Linked DNA regions of Homo sapiens: all the other regions are linked to region 3. Evidence: promoter capture Hi-C in 16 types of primary human blood cells and fetal thymus (Javierre and others, 2016). All regions are on one chromosome and are shown on one strand. The core of a region is centred on a gene start or on the middle of the fragment in contact, and the rest is flanking DNA. Distances in the headings are between cores, read along the strand shown. Region 1 holds the start of RETNLB (resistin like beta). Region 2 overlaps DZIP3 (DAZ interacting zinc finger protein 3). Region 3 holds the start of MORC1-AS1 (MORC1 antisense RNA 1).

The links. The method cuts DNA at HindIII sites, captures the fragments that hold promoters and counts their contacts. A CHiCAGO score of 5 or more calls a contact.
Region 1: a contact is called between the fragment with the promoter of RETNLB here and the fragment with the promoter of MORC1-AS1 in region 3, in 4 of 17 cell types (neutrophils, naive CD8 T cells, M2 macrophages and 1 more). The highest score is 8.8, in neutrophils.
Region 2: a contact is called between a fragment that was not itself captured here and the fragment with the promoter of MORC1-AS1 in region 3, in 2 of 17 cell types (erythroblasts and megakaryocytes). The highest score is 5.1, in erythroblasts.

The regions. Positions count from the first base shown.
Region 1 is chr3:108,756,160-108,760,198 of GRCh38, forward strand. It overlaps RETNLB (resistin like beta), which reads right to left and starts at 1,251. Exons shown (of 3, transcript NM_032579.3): 1 at 900-1,251; 2 at 349-429. The coding sequence starts at 1,026. The HindIII fragment of the contact is 7,429 bases long and covers 1-4,039 here.
Region 2 is chr3:108,664,855-108,668,996 of GRCh38, forward strand. All of the region lies in intron 21 of DZIP3 (DAZ interacting zinc finger protein 3), which reads left to right. Among named protein-coding and RNA genes, the nearest start is that of DZIP3, 77 kb to the left of the region's middle. The HindIII fragment of the contact is 567 bases long and covers 2,541-3,107 here.
Region 3 is chr3:109,099,685-109,103,770 of GRCh38, forward strand. MORC1-AS1 (MORC1 antisense RNA 1) reads left to right here and starts at 1,772. Exons shown (of 3, transcript NR_144461.1): 1 at 1,772-1,875. MORC1 (MORC family CW-type zinc finger 1) reads right to left here. Exons shown (of 28, transcript NM_014429.4): 5 at 733-823. The HindIII fragment of the contact is 2,885 bases long and covers 816-3,700 here.

The DNA of each region.
Region 1 (4,039 bases), core at 1-2,500, 340 kb before region 3:
TGATAAATTCACCTCTCTGTTGGCCCCTACCCATCAAAACAGAGGAATAGATTGGAAAGAGAAATGAAGTATGTGATCATTATGGGACAATGGAGGAGAGGAAGGGCTGAGAAACAGGGGCATGAAGTGAAGGGGTGAAAGGAAGAGGCAGAAGCCCAAGATCCCCCAGTAGCATCCTTCAGGGAAACAAGAATGGGCAAGGGGTCTCTGGGAACCAAGAGTCATGACTCAGCCCCAGGGTGCCAGGGTGATACAGACCTGACATGGGGGAAGACGTAGGTGCAGGGAGATGGACAGGGGAGGATACAGGGCATCGTAGTCGCCATTCCCTCTCAGGGAGTTACTCACCAGCAGGGCAGGAGGACGGTCTGCCTTGGCTTTTGACACTAGCACACGAGAGCTTCTTGCTTATAGGAGAGGGACTGTACTCTGAGTAGGAAAGAAGAAAGGGTACATCCCATGAGCTATCCTCCCCATAATCCCCTTATCCCCTTCCAAATTGTCTTCTACCTTGGAGGTGACACTGTGTCCAGAATCAGCCTACTCATCAGCTTTTAAGGTTAGTTTCCTCATTTTTAAAGCAGAAGTAATAGTTGTCCTTACCTCATAAAATGGTTGTGGGAATTAAATGAAATAATCTACGTAAAACTTGGATTATACCTGGTTCATAATGAGTGTTCATAAATTACAGCTACCATTCTCCTCCACCTCTTCCTCCTCATCAGGAAAACCTCAGCTTTTAGCCAAGACTTCAAACACGGGTAGGGTAGTGTAGAAAGCCCTCATCAGGGGTTGGGCTTGGTTGGGATCTTGGGATGGGATAGAGACAAAGCTAGAGTTTAAGAACAGGAGAAATGAGCAAGGGTCAACCCCCCGCTTCCCCTACCCCAGTCAGTTACCTAGACTGTTGAGAACATCCTTGATCTTCTTATCCATAACGGAGTCTAAGGAACACTGAGTACTCCCCGGGTTGATCAGCTGGAGAAGGGGGATTAGGATGAGAAGGAGGCAAGAGGACGGCCCCATCCTGTACAGAGTCAGTGTCCTGGGGCTGGGAGAAAAGATGGAAAGCAGCTTAGATCTCTGAGCTCCTGGGTGGTGGTGAAGGAAAGAAGACAACGTGGTTAGTTTCCAGGGAGTAAAGATGGAAGAACAGCGTCATCAGTACTGGATCTCTTTAGGCAGTTTGGAGAAGCAGGTAGGGTTGCTGAAGAACAGATTTATTCACCAAAACATTCAGAGAAGGTCTACAAGGACTAGCCAGGCAAGGGCGTTTTAATACACCTGGTATTAACCTGGGCACCTTTAACATACAAGCACACACAAACATGTAAACACACTCCCAGCACACTTTCAAAGACCTGTGCCAGCTAGGGTAACAGGTGACTGTGATAAACTTTGGAGTGTTCATGAGAAGCAACAGCTGCCTTTGCTCTGGATCTCTGCCAAGGGAGTCCTCCTGCCTTTTTGTTCTCCTTCTCCTTTCTTCTTGGCAACCCGATAAGGCTAGCACCTGGGCCTTCTGTGGTCTGCCGGTATTATAGGCTTCTTGTTTGATCCTTCATCAGGAAGAGGTTACTTTGCAGTTAACAAACAAATTAATCCACCCATCATCTATCCCAAACCCAAGTGTATGCTCTTTCTTATCTCTGTTGGCTGAGGGAGGGCCCTACTTGTCACCTGTTCAGACACCATTTTATTGTCCCTGGCCAATCTCATTTGGAGGAAAGTCACAGAAAGACTAATTAATCCTGGATTAAAAATAAGGAAGTTCAGTATTTACTTAACTAGAAGCATGGTTTATGATTCCAGAGTTCTTTTGGGGGCTCATAAAGTTTCCCTTTTTCCCCCACCATTCTCAGCTAATCTTTCGATCTTGTCTCCTCATGGTCACAAGGTAGAAGGTGCCACATCCTCAGCCCAGACCCTGAGCAGGAAGGAAGGAGTGGGGCAAGGCCACTTTCTGTAGGGGCTTTACCTTTTTATTTTAAGAGCAAGATCTTTCTCTAGAAGCTCAAGAAGATTTCCCCTTACATTCCACTGTTTGGTTCTGGGTCACACAACCTCCCTTTCTATCAGCTATGGCTGAAAAAGAGAGCTGGGCTTCACAATTCCTTATCCAAGACCTGGGGCCCAGGTATGTTTCAGAACTCAGAATGTTTCAGATTATGGAAGGTGCAAATTCTGTATATTATGTTAAACCACCAAGGAGGTTGGGGGCAGCACTCTGCAGTCTAATGCATAAATAGCCTGATGCAAAATGTATGAATATTAATGTGGGATAAATAAAAGACCATAAAGAGCCTCACACCAGGCCATGCCAAGTTTTTCTGCCAAATGAGTTAGCCTCAAATTTAGGACAGAACATTTTCATCTTTAGAGCCTTTTAGATTTTAGAATAATGGATAAGGGATTGAGGACTTTGAGGATTCACATATGGCCAAGAGGAATGAGGATGCCATGATTCCTCATCTAGGATGGGGCATGTGGCCACCATGAATAAATAAAATTTAAAGAAGTGCAGATGAAGAAGCAGAGAAAGGGGCCATGTGTTGTGGCTCATGCCCATAATTCCAATACTTTGATAGGCTGAGGCAGGAGGGTCTCTTGAGCACAAGAGTTCAAGACCAGCCTGGGCAACATAGTGAGACTCTATCAAAAAAAAAAAATTTACTGGGAGTGGTACCATGCATTTGTGGTCCCGGCTACTTAGGAGACTGAGGCAGGAGGATCACTTGAGCCTCAAGGTTGCAGTGAGCTGAGATTGTTTCACTGCACTCCAGCCTGGATGACAAAGCAAGACCTTGCCTCAAAAATAAATAAAATAAAATAAAATAAAATGAGAAGCAGAAAAAGGCAGTTAGGTGACTATTCCTTGAGGCAGTCAGAGCTGGAAAGGCTGGGCTCTACCTCTGTGACCAGCCTTTCTGCCCACTTTCCTGGAGATGCCCTCTAATGAACAGCTATTACTTATACATATCTCTCTCAGGCAACTTTGAGAAATGAGGCCTGGAGATGCCAGCAAAAAGGCAAGGATGCTTCCTCAATTACCAGACAGGAGTTGAAGAGAAGAAAAATGAGACTGGAGAATAAGAAAGAGCATACACTTGGATTTGGGATACATGATGGGTTGATTAATTGTTTGCTAATTCAATGAAAATTTGTAGAGCTTCTCTTTACCAGCTCTAGCTCTGCTGACTCAGTGGTGGACAACGTAGACAAGCTCTTTGCCCTTTTGTAATGGGGGAGATAAATACAGTGTATATACATATACTGTATTTATATATATGTATGTATGTGTATATATATATATGTATGTATATATATACATATATATATGTATGTATGTGTATACATACATATGTATGTATGTGTATACATACATATGTATGTATGTGTATACATACATATGTATGTATGTGTATACATACATATGTATGTATGTGTATACATACATATGTATGTATGTGTATACATACATATGTATGTATGTGTATACATACATATGTATGTATGTGTATACATACATATGTATGTATGTGTATACATACATATGTATGTATATATGGTCAAGTATTGAGAAATGCTGTAAAGAAAAATAAGTCAAGACAAGGCAATAGAGTGTGCCACTGTGCTATTGCCCATAATGCAGTATGTTCAGGAAAGGTGTCTCAGAAAAGGTAACAATGACCTGAAGAAGTGAGGGGGTGAGTCACAGGAAAATCTGGGACAAATGTTCTAGCCTGTGGAACAAGTATAAAGAGCCCACGGCAGAGAGTTGGTTAGTGTGTTGAAAGAATGACAACAATGGCAATATGGCCAGAATGAAGTATAGGGGGAAGGCCAGAGAAGAAGTCAGAGAGCTGACCAGGGCCAGATTATATAGAGCTTGTAAGCCAATGTAAGGGCTTTGGATTTTATTATAAATTTGACAGCAAATTATTGTAGTGTTTTGTTCAGGGGAGTGACATAAAATGATTTATGGTTTTCTAATGTTTAATTTTTCTTTTTTTTTTGGAGATAGGGTCTAGTTCTGTTG
Region 2 (4,142 bases), core at 1,574-4,073, 430 kb before region 3:
GGACTGGGAGGGGAGCTGAACTTGTACATCTCTCGTCTGCACTGAGGCAGTGTGAGTCAGTGCCCACTTTTCCTGGGGTGCTTTTGGTAGAGCTCAGTGCAAAGCCATGCATACACACCTCCTTGGCTTTTACATTATGCCTCAACAGGAGACTGCCTGCTAAAAATAGGAAGATTAAATAGAACCCAGAGTCTCATAATATTCAAAATATCTAGGCTACATTAGAAAACACAGATCATACCAAGAACCAGGAAATTCAGACAAGAAAGGCAAAAGACCAACAAATGACAATATTAATATTATTCAGATATTGGAATTATCTGACAAAGATTTTAAAGCAACCATCATAAAAATGCTTCAACAAAATTGAATAATCTTGAGACAAATGAAAACCTAGAATATCTCAGTAAGGAAATAAGTTATAATAAAGAATGAAAATTATATACTAGAAAATACAGTGATTGAAATTAAAACTTGCTGGATATAATCACTAGTAAAGTGGAGATGACAGAGGATTGAATCAGTGAACTTGGGGACAGATGAATAGAATGAACTCAATCTGAAGAACAAAGAGAAAATAGACTGGGAGAAAAAAATTAAAAAGAGTCTAAAGGACCTTTGAGCCAATAACAAAAGAGCTAAAGTACTTGTCACTGGAATTTCAAAAAGAGAGCAGAATGAGAGAGAGACTGAAAAAGTATTCAAAGAAATACTGAAATTTCCCCAAATTTGATGAAATGTATAAATTTACAAATTCAGAAACTAAGTGAACCCCGAATAGCAAAAACTCAAATCCATGCTAAGACACATCATAACTTAACTTCTGAAAACAAAAGACAAAGAAAAGGCTTGAAAACAGGCAGAGAAAAACATTACTTATGAGAACAGTAATTTGAATGACAACAGATTTTTCGTTTGAAACCATGAAGGCCAGAATGAAGTGGCAGTTTATTCAATTACCGAAAGAAAAGAGCAGAACCATGAATCCTGTATTTAGCAAAAAATATTCTGTAGGAATAGAAGGAAATAAAGACAGTCTCAGACAATGGAAAATTATAAGAATTTATTGCTAGCAAATTCATATATCTTACCGTTAAAGTATGGCTATAGGAAGGTCTCTAAACTTTAAAAATATATATATAGTAGAAGCTTGAGACTTCAGAAAGGAAAGAAGACCATCAGAATGAGTAAAGAGTAAGATAAATAATAAGAAGTTGTCCTAATTAATTTCTTAAATCATATTTGATGGTTGAAGCAAAAATTTTAACACTATCTCGTGGAATTCAATGTATGTAGAAGAAACACCAGTATATTTGAAAAGTGAGGAGGGTAAAGGCACCTAAATGAGAATAAAGCTAGGGATATATCATGCAGATGTTTATTAAAAAAAAGTAAGAATGGCTATATTAAAATCAGATTAAATGGACTTCAGAAGAAAGAAGACTGTTGGACACAAAGAGGGACATTACATAATGATGAAAGGATCAATCCACAAGAACCTCAAGGTATATGTACCAAAAACAGCCTCAAAACACATGAAGTAAAACCTGATAGAGCTGAAAGGAGAAATGGAAAAGTTTACCATTATAATTGAACACTTCAAACTCCACTCTCAATTTATAGTACTACTAAACAGAAAATCAGCAAGGATATAGAAGACCTCAATAACCACCATCAACCAGCAGGACCTAACTGATATTTATAGAACACCCCACCCGACAACAGTAGAATACACATGCTTTCAAGTGACCACAGGATGTATCTACCAAGATAGACAATAACCTGGGCCATAAAACAAACCTCAACAACAAATTTAAGAGTTGAAATCATACAAAGCATGTTCTCAGGTCACAATGGAGTCAAATTAAACATCAGTAACGGAGAGATACCAAGAAACCTCCAAAGGCCTGGAAACTATGCAACCCATGTCTAAATAATCCATGGGTCAAAGAAGAGCTCTCAAGAGAAAATACATTGAATTTACATGAAAATACAATATGTCAAAATTTGTGCCACATAGCTGAGGCAGTGCTGAGATTATAACACTAAATACACACATTAGAAAAAGAGAAAAGTCTTCAGTGGATAATCCAAGCTCTCACTTCAAGATCCCAGAAAAAGAAAATCAAAATAGACTCAAAGCAAGCAGGAGGAAATAAGTTATAAAGATTAGAAATAATGGGAGCAGGATGCAGTGGTGCACACCTGTAGTCCCAGCTACTTGAGAGGCTGAGATGGGAGGATTGCTTGAACCCAGGAGTTACAGTTCAGCATGGGCAACATAGCAAGGCTCCATTTCAAAAAAAAAAGAAACTGAGAAAGAATGAGTTGGAAAAAGAAAAATAGTAGAGAAAATCCATGAAACAAAAAGCTGTGTCTTTGAAAAGGTCAATAAAATTGACAAACCTCTAGCAAGACTGACAATATAAAAGACATAAATTACTACCATCCGGAATGAAACAGTGATATGTATCACTGCAAATACTACAAACACTGCAGACATCAGAAGATTATGCTGATTGAAAAAAGCCAGTTCCAAAAGCTTATATATGTTTCCATTTGCTGAACATTCTTGAAATGACAAAATTATAAAAATGGAAAACAGATTAGTGGTTCCAAGGTTATAAGAAGGGGATGAGAGTGGAAGGGAAGTGGTTGTGGCTTTAAAAGGGCAAAATGAAGGATCCCTGTGGTGATAGAACAGTTCAGTATCTTGACTGTATTACCATCAATATTCTGGTTATGGTATTATACAGTAGTTTTGCAAGATGTTACCATGGGGAGAAATTGGGGAAAGGATACATGGGTTCTTTGTGTATTATTTCTTATACACGCATATGAATTTACAATTATCTTGAAATAAAAAGTTTAACTATTTTAAAAAGTACATAATGAAAAACTGTCAAACAAGAGTATACTTAGTGGAAATTTTGTAGGGTAGAGAGAATATTTTTTTGATTGTTGTGATAAGGAACTTCCTTCAATGAAGAACTTTGTTAAAGACATAGTACTGAACCTAGGCATTGAAGGTTAGGTGGGATGAGATGGAAGAAAAGACAGGGCATCAAGGCAGAATGGACATAATGACTACTCTGTGTTCTCATATAAGCTTTTGAACGTTTTCTTCGTTTAATTCATCTGAACATTGCCCAAGAGTATGTGATAAAATATAAATATTCTTTAATTGTAAATGTTGGCTTCTTTCATCTTAGAATATGGAGATTAGAAAGCAAAAATGGTGTGGTTTTTTGGCCTAATTCAATTTGGTATGTGCAGTAAATGTTTGGCAAATATTTGTTGATGACAGTTGAAGTGTTAACAAAGAAGATTTTATGGAAGTGACTTAACTTTGGATAAACTACAATAAGCAGTTAGTAATATGTCAAGAAACTGCTGTCAACAGTCTATAATAAAACTTGATAGTCAGCTAGAGTTAACTTGAGAACTTTAGATTTTTTAGAAAGAAAATCTAGTAATTTCATTCTGTTATATTAAACATGAGAAAAAGACTGAGAAGTTAAGACTGCCTGAACATACGTAGCTGACTCTTATCTGAGCTGGATAATAAGAACTATGCCTACCTTATCCTCTGTTGTTTAAGAGTCTAGGTGTTCTGAATTCCCCACTAGTTATGTCTACTCTTATTGCCCACTCTAAACTAGAGCTGGGTAAAATATTGAAGTAATGGAAGTATACAAAGGAAAACAAGATGGCAGTCTTACAAATTTTACTGCTTTTCAACTCTGTCAACATATTCCTATATATTACAGTAATGAAGCTTGTATTTCTTAATATTTCACTTGAGAACATGACCTCTTTTGTACAGAAAGAGACCTGGTTTCTTTTCACTGCATTCTCAGACCAACAAAACATTAACTATAAGTCTCTAAGTCTTCTAAGAAGCTTAGAATAAAGGTGAATGGGTAGTCTCTGAAATCTGGTAGTGAGCAATCCATCCAACATTAAAGTCGTCATTTCAAAGATGTATTATTCCAACCAAAACTCTTCCATTTATCCCAAGAATTTCAACATATTAGAGACTTAAAGAGAAATGTGCTTTTATTATAAATCTTTTCATATTGAAGTTAATTACTAGGTTTATGTAAAAGCTTGCTTGTGAAAAGAAATACAGCAGCATAAGG
Region 3 (4,086 bases), core at 522-3,021:
GGAAAGGGTCCATTCAGGGCTCAAAAGAACAATCATCTGTCTCAGGTAGGAGCCGTACAAGTGAGCCTCATGTCCTGACCTTTCAATGCAGCATACTAAAACAAAGAGCTGCAGACACAGCACCTAGGTTAAAATATGCTTTGGGAAACAACAGAACATAGAGATGCAACAAAGCACTAAAGTACAGGGGTACCGCTTCAGGAATCTTTGAAAGAGGATTTATTTTATTATTTGGGAGAATTAACCTAAAATGTTGTAAAGATAAAAGTCAGTTATGGGCCGGGCGTGGTGGCTCATGCCTGTAATTCCAGTACTTTGGGAGGCCGAGGCGGGCTGATTACTTGAGGTCAGGAGTTCGAGACTAGCCTGGCCAACATGGTGAAACTCTGTCTCTACAAAAATACAAAAATTAGCTGAGCATGGTGGCTCATGCCTGTAATCCCAGCTGCCCAGGAGGCTGAGGCAGGAGAATCACTTGAACCCAGGAGGCGGAGGTTGCAGTGAGCCAAGATCGCACCACTGCACTCCAGCCAGGGTGACAGAGTGAGAATCTGTCTCAAAAAAAAAAAGTCAGTTTTGTATATGGAGATTCCAACACAAAGTAGGTCACCCCTGCCTCAAGTTTATATATTTTTTAAAGCTTTACATGCCTGCATCATTCTGTGTAAATTGCTTTATAAACAGTGTTCCCAGTATCAATAATATATGTCTTAAGGGAAAAAAAATTCTCACCTTTTAAGACCATTGCCGTATTGCCCTATGAACTTCAAGGTTGACAGCCGTTTTTTGGATCGTCCAAAGTAAATGATGTCTGAAGCTTCCTCTGTAATTGACAGTGACTTTTAAGGTGGTTAGGAAGACTCTTTGACACTGGCCTGAGGCCCAGCTGTCAGGACCTCACATTCCTCAGAACATCAGGACAAACCCATAGCTCTTGGGTCAGCCCAGAGACAAGGATTTTCATCAGAATCCACAGTCTCTGACAAGGGTCTTAATGGTATTACAGTCAGCCCAAGGTACGGCAGGCTCCACATTCATAGACTCAACTAATCTTGGACTGAAAATATTCAGAAAAAAATAAATTGCGTCTGGACTGACCACGTACAGACTTTTTTTTTGTCATTATTCTCTAAACAACAAAGTATAACAACTATTTAATAGCATTTACACTGCATTGGGTATTATAAGGAACCTGGAAAAGATTTAAAGTATACAGGAGGATATATATAGGTTATACGGAAATACCGTGCCATCTTCTTTCCACAGCTTTTGGTATCCTAGAAAGGTCCTGGAATCCATTCCCTACAGATACTAAGAAACAACTGTATACTGAAAGAGATGAGACAGACCTAACCATGTGGCCTTAGGTAGAGTTTAAAAGTCTGAGCCTTAATTTCCATGTGGTGTAAGAGGCAACTACGTAATACTTATATCACGGTGTTGCTGATGAAGATAAATGAAACAAATGAAATGAGATGATGTATTTGTGAAATCCTGAACACAAAACTTGGCACTTGGTGGGTGTTACCAAATTACAAGTGTTATAATTACTTGTACCACTAGTAATTTCCCCACGAATTTAGCCCTTAACCAGGCCCATGTGAGACTAAGAGGGGCAGGATGACCTCTGCTCTGATACTACCTGGGAAAGAAGGCTAACCATTTCAGACGTTCCAAATCATTCTCCCGACCTCTCCAGGTATTCTGGAATTCTAGACAGTAATCCTCTGGACTTCAGAATATATTAATACCAATCTCCAGAACCAAGAATGTTCTTCTTGTTGGCCTACCTGAATACATGCTGAAGAATTGTCCTGAGGACCCTCTGTCAGTCTGGGTACAGATATGCTATAGTTCAGTGGCACATGGTATGAGGTGTGTAAAAGCCACCAAACATTCTGCTTCTCTGAAACTAACTGGACCTCCTATGATATGTTCCTATGAGGGGTTAGGCATTAGGTAAGGATATCCATAATGACAATCTTAGCTAACACTTATTGATTGTTTAGTATATGCTAGGTACTATGTTTATACTTACATGCACAGCTTATTTAATATTTATAACAAAACAAGAAAGGTATTATTACTATGACCTGCATGTCACAGATGAGCAAATGTAAGTCTAAGGAGTTTTAAAAACCTGCCCAAGGTCACAGAGCTGATAGAGGGTACAGCTAGGATTATAACCCAAAGTTCTAAGTCTTGGTACAGACATGGTATAGCTCTGAACCAAATCCCATGTGTTCATTACACACTACATGAACTCACGTGCATGGTTACCCGGTTCTGAGCATGGGAATAAACCACTGAACAGGCCAGGCATGGCTCCTGCCTTGGACAACACTATGTCATGGTAGGAGAAACAGATTGAAAGTAAACTAATAAATAAGATCATTTCTGACTGAGTATTAAGTGAAGAAAACAAAACCAGGGTAATGCGATAGAGAATTAACAGGAACGTGGCCTGCAGACAGAATGATCAGGGAAGGCCACTGGCAGATGGTTAACATGAGATGGATTCAAACGATGAGGGGTCAGCCATGTGTGGGTGGAGTGTTCTAAGGGAGGAAGTGGGAAGAACAAGAAAAGGCCAAAGAGGTGCATAGGGCCAAATAATGTAAGGTCTTGGAAGAGATGCTGAGAGTACAAATTGTATTAAGTAATGGAAAACCACTGAGGGTTTTCAGCAGGAAAATGATATTAATGTACATTTTCAGCAGGAAAATGTACATTAAAAGAAAGAAAATCACTCAGGATGCTGTGTGGGGAATGGACTATAAAGGGGCAAGACTAGAGAATTTTTTAAAAACCCGGAAAGTACTGTAGTCATTTTCTATGGGTCAAGATTGATCTAGCTCCGTTTGAACAACGGATAGATTCTACTTTTAGTCATCTTCCTTCTACTTTATTACTAGTTGATGCTACTATGTAACTGAAGTGTGAGTTCCTTCTGAAGGTCTGAATATCCGTCACTTGTCTGTGTTTCAAACATTTTGTTCATGACCCATATAAAAAGAGTTGCTTCTTTTCATAAGGAATTCCCTTAGAATATATCACATATATTCTGTCATTTATTTTAGGAATTCAAAAAAATGAACTTAATATTCAGGCTAGAAGTGAAAAATTACTTTTTTCAGCATGGGTTTTTTCTGTTGTTGTTACAAACTCTTCTTTCTCATTTAAACAATAAAAGACCAAGAATACTTTTAATCAAAATGACCTGGAAAAATCAAAATTATCCGAAGTCAGAACAAAACTGGGTGAAACAGTCTTTCTAAACTTGCTAATACTCTTCAACTATTCAGACCAAGGGGAAACTTCAGAGCTGAAATAAGATATTTGCCATACCTCATATCTTCAGCTTCTATCAGCAAATCAATATTTGAGCATACTGATGCATCCTTTCCTCAGTTGTGGAACTGACCATGGCAGTTCCATATTACTGAACTCTCACCATTTTTTAAATCTAGTGGTCAAAAACCCTGGCTTGTGGAACACACCATGTTTAAAGAATTCAGAAATACAATACCTAAAACAACCCAATGCCCTCAGATGGAATCACATTTCAATTTCACAGCACACAGACACTGTATACCCATAATGTGCTGGCTTTGTGCTAACCTTGAATACACAAAGATAAGTCATGAAATATATTGTAGATGTATTCTTTATGATGGGAACATTCATTTGAAGCAAGTAAAGCTTTCAAAATGCAGAGGAAAAAACAAGGCTAAAAACAAGGAGAGGAAACCTCTACCTCGAGGTTAAGCAAAATTAAAAATAGCCTACAGGCACAGGAAACTGCCTGGGGCTCTCACAAGCAATACCTAAAGGATGAGCTAAAAACAATCTCAGAGTCTATTCAGTGACTATTTGTTTTCCATTCATTCCCAGATGCTTATTTCTTACAATCAGTAACATTTGCCTTTCATTTTTCTGACAATATTAATATACATTTACTTTTTGTCTTGGTTTAGATGGTTACAATAAATTTACTCTGCCAGCTGGGATACTTAAACCTAAAAAGTTCAACAAAAAGTCTGGGGCTTACTTTCTTTAATAGCTCCATACCTGTTTTTGCATAGA